2 separate regions of the Homo sapiens genome follow, and region 1 is linked to region 2. Evidence: promoter capture Hi-C in 16 types of primary human blood cells and fetal thymus (Javierre and others, 2016). All regions are on one chromosome and are shown on one strand. Each heading gives the region's core, a stretch centred on a gene start or on the middle of the fragment in contact. The rest is flanking DNA. Distances are from core to core; before and after follow the strand shown. Region 1 overlaps TGFBR2 (transforming growth factor beta receptor 2). Region 2 holds the start of OXSM (3-oxoacyl-ACP synthase, mitochondrial).

Region 1 (4,995 bases), core at 2,348-4,847, 4.9 Mb after region 2:
CTTCGGTCTGTTCTAACACTGAAGTTTTGTAGTTGAGTGCTGACTGTGGTGCATAAACTGAGCATTTGGATACCTACATATCACACCACAAGGTTTTGGAGGGGCTCACTTTGCTTTAATCCCTGTTTCATCCAGTTTCTCTTTTTCTCCACATGCCTTCACAGAGGCAAGGGGAGCATGCTGAGTCTAGAATTTCTAATCAAAGCTAACCACATCCCTGTCATTGTTGGATAATATTACAAATTAGACACGTTGTTCCTGTTTTGACTCAGAATCACAGCAGGAAGCAGCTAAATAAAACTGAAACAACCCACAAGTGCCTTTCACATAAGTGATTAGGGTAATCGCAGTTCTGTACTTGCCAAAGGGATTCATTCCCTCTTCATTTTTTCCATGGAAAGCTTGCTTTGGGCCACAAGGCCTTCTCTTTGAATGACTGCGCCATTATTGGCCAAGTAGTGCTGATAAATGGTACCTGTGGGTTGTTGTGGGATTTAAGGAGATGATGCTTGGGAGCGCCCAGCACAGTGGCTGGCACACAGTAGGTGCATCCTTTCTTACTTCTTCTTCCCCTGATTAACGAGAACACTCTACACCAAGACACATACCTCTTCTGAACGGTATAAACCGTTGCTACTGAAAGTGTCTAGACCAGCAGCAGCAGGATCACCCGGGAGCTTATTAGAACTGCACAACCTTGGGTCCTCTGGGGCCTATTGCATTAGCATCTGCCTGTAACAAGGCCTTCAGTGATTTGTTTGCACACTGAAGTGTGAGAAGCACTGGTGTGAACTCACCAGGTAGGGATGGAACCAGAGATGGAGGTCTTATTAACTTCATGCTGGTAACTCCCTGAGCTAATGGGCCCATGAGGAATAAATTTGGTCTAAAGCCTGGTCATTTGGAAATGAACTAAATATACTTTACTCAGTCAGCTTGTGTAACAGAGCTCTCCAGTGGCATGTGGGTCTTTTTCAGCAGTGACAATAGTTTATTTTTTAAATATACTCCACAAATGTTGTTCTGGTGTGGATCTTAATGTGGAGAAAATCAGACACCTTTTCAGTAAGCATTTCTTTTGTTTCTGTGATCATGTTCATGTTAGTTTATTGTATTTGTATTAGTTTATCTGTGGGACTATCCCTTAATATTTCCCAAAACAAGAAGACATTTGCGAATGTTTTCAAGATGCATTGTACAAGATACTGTTTTGAACTGGATCAATGAAGGAGATGTTTGGTGGCCTTGGAAAGCCCTGGAGAGTAATAGTGTGGTTCTAAGAAGAGTTGGCCTGAATCAGTTCATTCTTGGGTTGTTTGCTAAGATTGTCTGCTGAAGGTGGGTACGTGGAAAACAAGATGGTAAGCCAAGGAGGATGAAGGGAGGCATGCTGCTGGACCACTTCCAGCTCCCAAATGACTGGATCTTGGCCATCTTGCTTTTCCTGCTAACTTAGAACTGAACTGCTTATTCTAGAAAATGAGAGGCACTGGGGCCATATAGGAAAGGGATAGCATTGGACCCAAGTCCTAGACTTTCAGTAGTTTGTTTGCAGGACCAGGGTCCCACCCCTTTTCCAATTGAAATGTAGGCAAGGTGGTGGCAAGCCCATGGCCTAGGCTGTGGGAACTCATAGAACAACTATAGTGATGATCGCTGCCTTGGATTGCAGCCTACTCTGAATGTGTGCACCTGTGCTAACTACTTTCAGGTGTGTTGTCTTGTTTCATAGACTCATTACATTTTTATGATGAAGTGAAACCCGTGAATTGGCTCCTCCAGACTTCTCATTTTAATGACAAAAAAGTGGGTCTCCAGAGAGGAGCTGGGATTTTCCAAGATCTCATAGTTTGTTCCTCACTTTTTGTCCGTAGGAGAATCATAGAAGAACCAGATAATCTTGTCTCTTATAGAAGGAATACCCTTACCCTTCCACATTCCCGTGGTGGTGGTGTGTTTGCTTTTTTATCAGTCTTAACCCATGGGAGGCTGCACAACTTACATAAGAGGCTACCTGTTCTGTTTGCCAAACGGCAGCCCAGACCCATCACTGAGCATGTCCTTGGCAAGAGGCACAACCTCAGGCTGACACTGTTTCCATGTCCGTGAGAAATGATGTGTATAAACGATGGCCAGTAAGATGCTCATCTGTTGGGAAGACAACAGAGGGCAGGGCTGAGAGCATGGCTTCCCTGCTGATTGCCTGTGTTCAGATCCCAGCTCAGCCGTGTGTAAGCTCTTGGTTCTTGGGGTAACTACTTGTTTACCTCTCTGAAAAATGGGAGTAGAAATAATGAATACTTTTAATAGGATTATTTTGAGGATAAATGTATTTATTTATGTAGAGAACTTGGCACGGCACCTGGCACAGAGTGAGCACTTAATGAATTTTGACTGTAAATAGTTATTACTGTTCCACTAGATTCAAATTTCTTATCTTTGCCTTTAGCTGGATGAGTGAGGAGATTTGTACCAACGTCATGTATTCTCCTCTTCCCTGCAAATTCCTCCACCTGAGTCCTATTGAGGTGCTCCCCATTATAAGGAGTCCTGTGAATCAAAGTGGTATGTTTACTGTAAAGAATGTGGAGGATGCTGTTCACTGCATTGTATTGTTATCTTCATGAGGAAGCCAGGAGACATTTATTTTGGCTCTCTGTTTTAGAAAGGTGTTCTCCTCATGACGACCTGTTTGCCTCTGATCTTAAGGACACTTTGAAGCATACCGAGCAGGGGTCTGCAAACTTCTTTGATAACAGGCAAGATAGTAAATATTTTCAGCTTTGCAGGGCAGAGTCTCTGTCACAGCTACTCAACTCTTCTGTGGTAGCAGCCACAGACAGTGTGTAAGTGATTGGACGTGGCTGTGTTCCAGTACAACTTCATTTACAAAAACAGGGCTCAGGCCAACCCCTGATAGAGATATTCATGGTTTTTGTGTTTCTCTCTCAAATGCTAACTACCAGAAAAGCTTAGAGTCAAATCTGAATCATGCTTCTAGCAAATATGTACCTACACATTTAGCATACTAATATCACTCTTGCTTACCAGTTTTTACCCTGTTTTCTCACATTTATATTCCATTTGTCATAATTATAGCTCCTGTCTTGACTGTATCTTCTTTCACTGTGTTTTTTGTTGTTGTCGTTGTTGTTGTTTTTGGGAATGGGATAGGACTGTAAGTAAATAAATCAATTATATCTTGCTAGCTTAGAAACCAGGACTTGAGTAACCACTTCTGACTCAAAGTTCAATCTATGTGGTTAAATAGGGAAGCAGACCATAAGATGTATGCCCAGTGGTGCACGTTGCTGACTCGCAAGCTATGTGCAGGCTTTAGCATTTAGTGTGGTGATGTGTGCCCTCTAACCTGAGATGTTGAGAGAGGGGCAGAGAAGAAGACTTCTTGTAGCCACAAAGTTTCATTCCTTCCTCTCTCATTGTTGTAGCATTTCTTTTAAGTGAAAACAGCCTTTTTGGTTTGCTAGCCTATCTCTGGCAGGAAGACAAATTATTTTTTTACAGTATCAGACACGCGGTTTCCTGTCTATGTTTAACTTGCTAGCAGAACATCTCAGCCAGCTGGTTCCCTCTGGACCCATTGTGTCCTTAATGTCGTTGCTTTACACCATCCAGCAAACCCACTCTGTGTACTGATCGCATGCATTGAGCATTTTGTTGACTTCCGTTGTTTTCCGAGTAAGGGAAGTCTTAGAAATGCTGCCCTCTTTCTCCCAAATCTCATTTTATGTTTGTTCAGCTCCAACACCAGGGAGCTGGCTTCTTGGGGAAATGATTAGTTCTTGCATGTAAGAAATGAAAAGAGTAAATGGTGTTTTGGTAGCTCTGGGGGATTTTAGGTATGCTGCCTTGGAACTGTGCACTCACGCCTCAAAATAGCTGGCTTTCCAGCTGTGCATTTTTGTTTCAAAAGAAACAAACCAGATTTACTTTCTGGTCTAAATGCAGAAGAAAAAATAAGTGTGGAAATATGGTTGAGAAAAGTTGTTAGAAGAGGAAGAAAATTATGGATTAAAGTTGCTAGTCTCATTCCTGAGAAGAGAAATCAGTTATTTGAGGTGATGACTCAGAGCTGAAGCAGCTTTTTGTTGTGAACCAGCCTTGGTTAGAAAGCACACTTGGAATTCATCAATATGGCCCTATGTCTGGCCAAGGAAATAATAAAGATTTTGCATGATAGAGGACACTGTGACTCAGTTGAAGGAAGCTTAGAATGTATTTGAACTGAATTAAGGCAAAAGCAACTCGCTTTTCAAGATTTTTTTTTTTCCTAAGTAGCAAAGTAAACAAAGCTGCACTGAGGCCAGATGTGCTTTCTGGTTGTGAATATTTGTACTCTAGAACCTCATTCTGGTATGAATCAGCAGAGTGGAATCTAGTATGGACACAGGCTGTCTCAAATTCCATCCACTGGATATGAGTGGCCAAGAAAGCAGTCGGACCCATACTGCTGGTGCTGTAGCAAGGTTCGGGTGGTTCCTCTGCAGCCTCAGGTCTCTCCCACTGCGGCCTCCATGTGTTCCATAAACTCCACACCCATGAGTAATGGCAAGAAGGGTCCACTGAGACCTTTTGCTGCTTTGCGAGTGTCTCAGTGTCCCACCAGGGGAAAAAAAAGGCTCAGGGAGGTGGCTAACCACTGTGAAATTGACTTTTATTTCCACCCACGTATACTCCAGAGGCTGTATTCACCACCATTTGGACATCTGGATGACTTGCCTTTGGAAAGTCCTTTTGTATTCTAAATCGCTCCTGCATGTTACCTGTTGTGGAAAATATCAATTTTGCCATTACAAATTATGCTTTTTTTTAAAAACATGTTAACTTTTAGAGAAATAATTTATATTTGCTTATCTACTTTTAAAAATATACATATATATGCCTTTTGTTGCCTAATTAGAGGATATAGTTGGTTCCAATGTCAAGAACAATTTCTCTGAAATGTAGTCATTAAAATTATTCCCATGTCTTTCA
Region 2 (5,253 bases), core at 2,620-5,119:
TGAGAGGCAGGAGAATCGCTTGAACCCAGGAGGCAGAGGTTGCAGTGAGCTGAGGTTGCCCTACTGCACTCCAGCCTGGGTGACAGAGCGGGACTCTACCTCAAAAAAAAAAAAGAATAGCGCCATGATATGTCAACTCTAAAAATGATGTTTTTAATAAAGGTGAAATCCTGGGGAAAAAAAAAATCTTTATTTTGGAACAAAAATAAATAAATAAAAGAACAAGAATTTCAATGCTGATTTAGTACCCATTCTTTGGTTGTTTGAAACAACGATGGGTATAAAAGTTAGGGTAGCTTATTCAGCTTTTCTAAAGGAAATGGAAGAATTAGAATATCTCCAACTTGACTGAAGTGGGGGAAGCAGCCAGGAAAATGAGAGACCAAGTCCCTTTATATAATGGATTCCCTTAATAGCTTTATAAATGGCAATATTCAAAAGAGATTACAGTTACTCAAGAACTTTAACAGAAGTGTTGCTAAAGAGTTATTTGGAAGGACTTAAATTTCAGATGATTTTTTTAAAATGGTGATTTCCATGATTTTATGGACTGTACATTGTTATCACAATATTAATGCTATGGCATTGGTTTTCGCAAAAGTCATTTGGTGAGAAATGCACAAAAAGTGCATGTGTACTATCAAATGTAAGGATAAATGTTGATTTATTCATTCCATAATTCATTCATTCATCATGTATTTATGAAGTGACTACTAGTTGCTCAGCACTGTGAAGGAGACAAGTATGGTCCCTACTTTCATAGAAGTCATAAGTTTAGAGCAGTGGTTGGACAAGCAACAGCAGCATCAGCAGGAAACTTGTCAGAAAAACAAATTCTGAAGCTCCACATTTAAAGGTGGGACCCAGCAATCTGTGTGGTAACAAGCCCTTCAGGTGATTTTGATTAACAGTAAACTTTGAGAACTACTAGTTTAGAGGGAGGAAAATTTCACTGTGGGCTGCAGTTTCAGTGAGGGGGGACAACTTGAACAGAAGCCTTAAATTGAGAGGTTGAGAAGGTGAGAAAGGAGAGGACTTGCTACCTGTGAGAGACTCCCCACCCTCCTTAAATCATGTACAATATCCTAGTAACGTTTCCTTCTCAACATCTCCTGGATCTCTCCTTGCCATTGCCTTCAGAGCCTCGTGTTTCATCCATTCTTAACTTTCTTCCCTGTGTCCATTTCCACATCCTTCCAACCCACCCTGCTCATTTGTGCAATAGTGATCTTTCTAAAGCACCCATCTGATCATGTTGTTCTCCTGGTAAAAAGTTTTCTATGGCTCCCTCTATCCACATTCTAAAGTCAAATGGTGTCAGGAACCAGGCTGGTAAGTTAAATATTTTAAGTGGCTTTGTTCAAGACAAAGAGGAGTAAGAGAGACTCCAGTGAAGGGAATGAGAGAGTTTACCATGTCCTTTCTAGAGGAGTTTAGAATCAATAAAAGAATGTTGCACTCCAAATTATACCATGAAGGCTAGCATATGGTCTCTGAACTACGGGATTAAATCCAAAGTCCTCAGTATGATACCCCAGGCTTTTGTGATCTGGGCCCTGCCTTACTCTCATGCGTTTACTGTTGCTTTGTCCCACACTTCAAATTTGACATGGGCCACATATTTAGCTGTTTGTGGAAGATACCATGACACTTCATTTCTCCAGGCCTTTGTTCTCCTCCTGCCAGGATGCCCTTTCCCACCCAATTTACTAGACAAACATTCATTTCCAAGATGCAGTTCAAGGATCATTTCTCTGAAGCCTTTTCTGACTTTACGAGGTAGCACAGACCTCATTGTCCCTTTTGTGTTATAATAATTCCACTATAGCACCTGTTTCAACAGTTTGCACTTACTTGTTTCTATGGGTGTCTCCCTTTACTAGACCATAAACTTCTTGAAAGCAAGAGCCATACCTCTACTCATTTTTGCATTCAAACTTCAAGCATTGATAGGAAGAAAATGAGTGGTTGTTGAAAATAGCAAAAGCACAGAGATGAGAAAAGTTAGGGTCAATCAAGACATGTATAGTGAGAAAATCAGTTTGCTGGGTGGCAAGCTCATTTAATAGAGAATGGGAGCCATAATTGGAAAGATAGTTTTGAATCAGATTACAAAGAATTTAAGGCAAACCTAGGAAGTCTTAATAGGAGGGTAGGATAAGCAGAGCCCATTTGAAGATTTTGGTGCAAGAAGACACGATGGAATTGTAGCAGGAAATATGGTACCAAATATGTAAAGCCATTAAATATCATAAAATTTCCCACCCTTTTCCAGATCAAAGAAAAGGTGATAAGAGGTAGATACAAAAATGATGGTCTTTTTATTTTTCTGAAAGATTTTGTCACCTCTTAGCCAAGACGATTTTGTGATATTACAAAAGAAATAGCACATTAAAACTGTATGTTTCTTATGAGTTCAGCTTCAGAGAAAATATTGTAGGTATTTTCACACTATTATTTTAAAGACAGCAATGAAAAGAGATCAAGTTTAGGTACTTACTCATCAAGTGTTACTTTATAACCACATGTGTTTGTTTTAATTCTTCAAGAAACTCTACTTTGTCACTGAATGAGGATCAACTAGAGGTGACTGGTTAGGCCTGGGACGAAGGTCAAACTGAGCTTTGCTGAATTATTTTAAACAAAATAGATTTCCAAACTCATTTAAATCCAGGACCAACCTGGAAAGCTAAGCTTGACTCACATTCTTCTGTAGGGGTAGGAAAGAATGCAGAGCACTCTACTTGGAAACAATGGCTTCAAGAGGCATTGCCCAGAAAAAACCATAAATATGACTAGAAGGTCCAGATGAAGATTCTATGCTCAACCATTTTTCTAAAGAAGAGCAAGGACAAAACTCACGCCTGGGATAGCATGTGAAAAACAGATGTTCGATGAATACCATCTTGTCGACTTCTTGCTTTTTTACATTTTCATGTTATATTTTCCCTTTATCGGTTTGCAGTCAGCTCTAAGCAAACAGTTAATGAATTTTTCACACTTAGAAACAAATGTCTCCATTGTGACAATGGAGACAATTTTTGAGCACTGTCTCAAATCTGGTGATAATTTTTTTTTAAGTGAAAGGAAGTTTATTAGGAAAGTAAAGGAACAAAGAATGACTACTCCATAGGCAGAACAGCCTGGTGACAACTTTTAAAAAGTAAAAACTTTATTACAAAAACATTTGTTTATTGTAGAAAAGCTTTATTAAATAAAGCTAAGCAAAAATAAGGAGGGAAAGATCACAATCAGTATACATCTTGCAGACCTTTAAAGAATTATTTTTGAAAAAACGGATATATACTGTTTTGTAACTATGTCTCCTAACAAATAGTCGCAACATCTCATTAATAAATATTCACCTGCAGAATTATTTTAAACGGCTGCATGGCATTTGGATGTACCACAAGATACACAACAAATTTCCTGATGTTGGCCATTTTGGTTAATTCCACTTTACTCACAATTACTAATAACGTTGCGAGCTATAGCAATAACTTTGAAACTGCAGAGAATTTCCTTAATTCTTTCTTACAATTCCAGTAGAATACGATGGTGTCCCTTCTCCGACAAAAGGGAATATTTGGGCATTATCACTGCCAAAGAAAAATGCCTTTTTGATGGGTGAAAATGCTACCTCATCGCGTTATTGGCAGGTCCTCGATTATCGGCGAGTCACTGAGGTTCCGAGAGGGGCGTCTCTGCTCACGCAAACAGCTACCCAGCCGCCTCCCACGGTCTGACCTCAGCCAAGGTGACGCGGCTTAAAGTCAACCGGCGGAAAGAGAGTCGAACGGGACGCGTGCGTGGGAAAGCGCATGAGCGTACGTGCGAGCGCGCATGAGCGTACGTGCGTGTGCGCGTGCGCTCGAGAGCGTCATCGCCCCCGACTGTGGAGAAGTGTCCGGGGTAGCCCCGTTACAGGTATCGCTGGCTACCCTCCTCCTTCGCCCCTCCTTTCCTCCTTTACATTCAAATCAAGTCGGGGTTGAATTTCGAGAGGGGAGTCCGAGGACCTGGGGCCTGATTTCTTTTTCTCTCGCCATGCTTCTTCGGGCTGTGTACATGTGTGGTGGTGCCTGAGAGGCGATACAGGGAATGGCTACACTCTTTTACTCCCGCCCCTGGCCTTCGTAGTACCCTTGAAGTGATCCACTAGTCGTAACCCCTCCTTCCACCAATGATTCAATTGGAGAAGTTTAGAGGAGTGGAAAGACTTGTCCCCTTCCCCCATCGCAAGCTTGGTCACAGAGTGTATTGCCAACCCATGTATCCAGACGCTCAGTCTAGGGCTCTTGGCCCTGGGTAGCGTTTTGAAAAGGCTGGTTATCCTTAAGTACTGAAGATTGATAAAGCCCACTTACTTACTTAAAAGAATATGCCCTGAAATGTGTTTTCTGTGCCACTGACACCAGAAATGCTATTTAGAAGAAGTTATCAGTAATCCTGACAAAGGATGCTTCCTGCAGCTCAAATCAGGCTGGAGGTGCCTTTATATTTTTCATTGAATTACTGTTTTGGTGACTCGAATGAATCATCAATTCATTTATTTGTCTTCAAATGTCTGACGGCACTTAAGGTCTAAAAAAGAAGGTAAGTTTAAACAGATAGTTTGATGTTAAGGTATAAATTGAAAGTATGTAACATTTTCCCTGTGTTCATTAGCAGCTCATATCAAGCACCCAAAGGAACACCTTGGATGTTTTTCCTTAGGCCCTTAAGCTATTTAAAAGAATACCTCCTAGGTGTGTTGTGGTCTTTTACAGGAATGTGTTTCTGATCATCTGAATCTTAATCATGTCCAACTGCCTGCAAAATTTCCTGAAAATTACAAGCACTCGTCTTCTATGTTCAAGATTATGCCAACAGTTAAGAAGTAAAAGGAAGTTTTTCGGAACTGTGCCAATATCCAGATTGCATAGGCGAGTTGTCATTACAGGCATTGGCTTAGTGACTCCTCTTGGTGTTGGAACTCACCTGGTTTGGGATCGTCTTATCGGAGGAGAGAGTGGAATTGTTTCACTGGTTGGTGAAGAGTATAAGAGTATCCCTTGCAGTGTTGCTGCTTATGTGCCAAGAGGTAGTGATGAAGGTCAGTTCAATGAACAAAACTTTGTGTCCAAATCAGATATCAAGTCCATGTCTTCTCCCACCATCATGGCCATTGGGGCTGCAGAATTAGCCATGAAGGATTCTGGCTGGCATCCTCAGTCAGAAGCTGATCAAGTGGCTACTGGTGTTGCAATTGGC

What was found. The method cuts DNA at HindIII sites, captures the fragments that hold promoters and counts their contacts. A CHiCAGO score of 5 or more calls a contact.
Region 1: a contact is called between a fragment that was not itself captured here and the fragment with the promoter of OXSM in region 2, in 1 of 17 cell types (naive CD8 T cells). The highest score is 11.6, in naive CD8 T cells.

Annotation. Positions count from the first base shown.
Region 1 is chr3:30,655,258-30,660,252 of GRCh38, forward strand. The region is part of intron 3 of TGFBR2 (transforming growth factor beta receptor 2); the gene reads left to right. Among named protein-coding and RNA genes, the nearest start is that of TGFBR2, 51 kb to the left of the region's middle. The HindIII fragment of the contact is 1,257 bases long and covers 2,970-4,226 here.
Region 2 is chr3:25,786,221-25,791,473 of GRCh38, forward strand. OXSM (3-oxoacyl-ACP synthase, mitochondrial) reads left to right here and starts at 3,870. Exons shown (of 3, transcript NM_017897.3): 1 at 3,870-3,927; 2 at 4,770-5,253. The coding sequence starts at 4,801. It also overlaps a transcript of NGLY1 not described here. RefSeq lists enhancers at 3,349-3,878, 4,018-4,087, 4,098-4,167 and a silencer at 3,696-3,915. The HindIII fragment of the contact is 1,038 bases long and covers 3,204-4,241 here.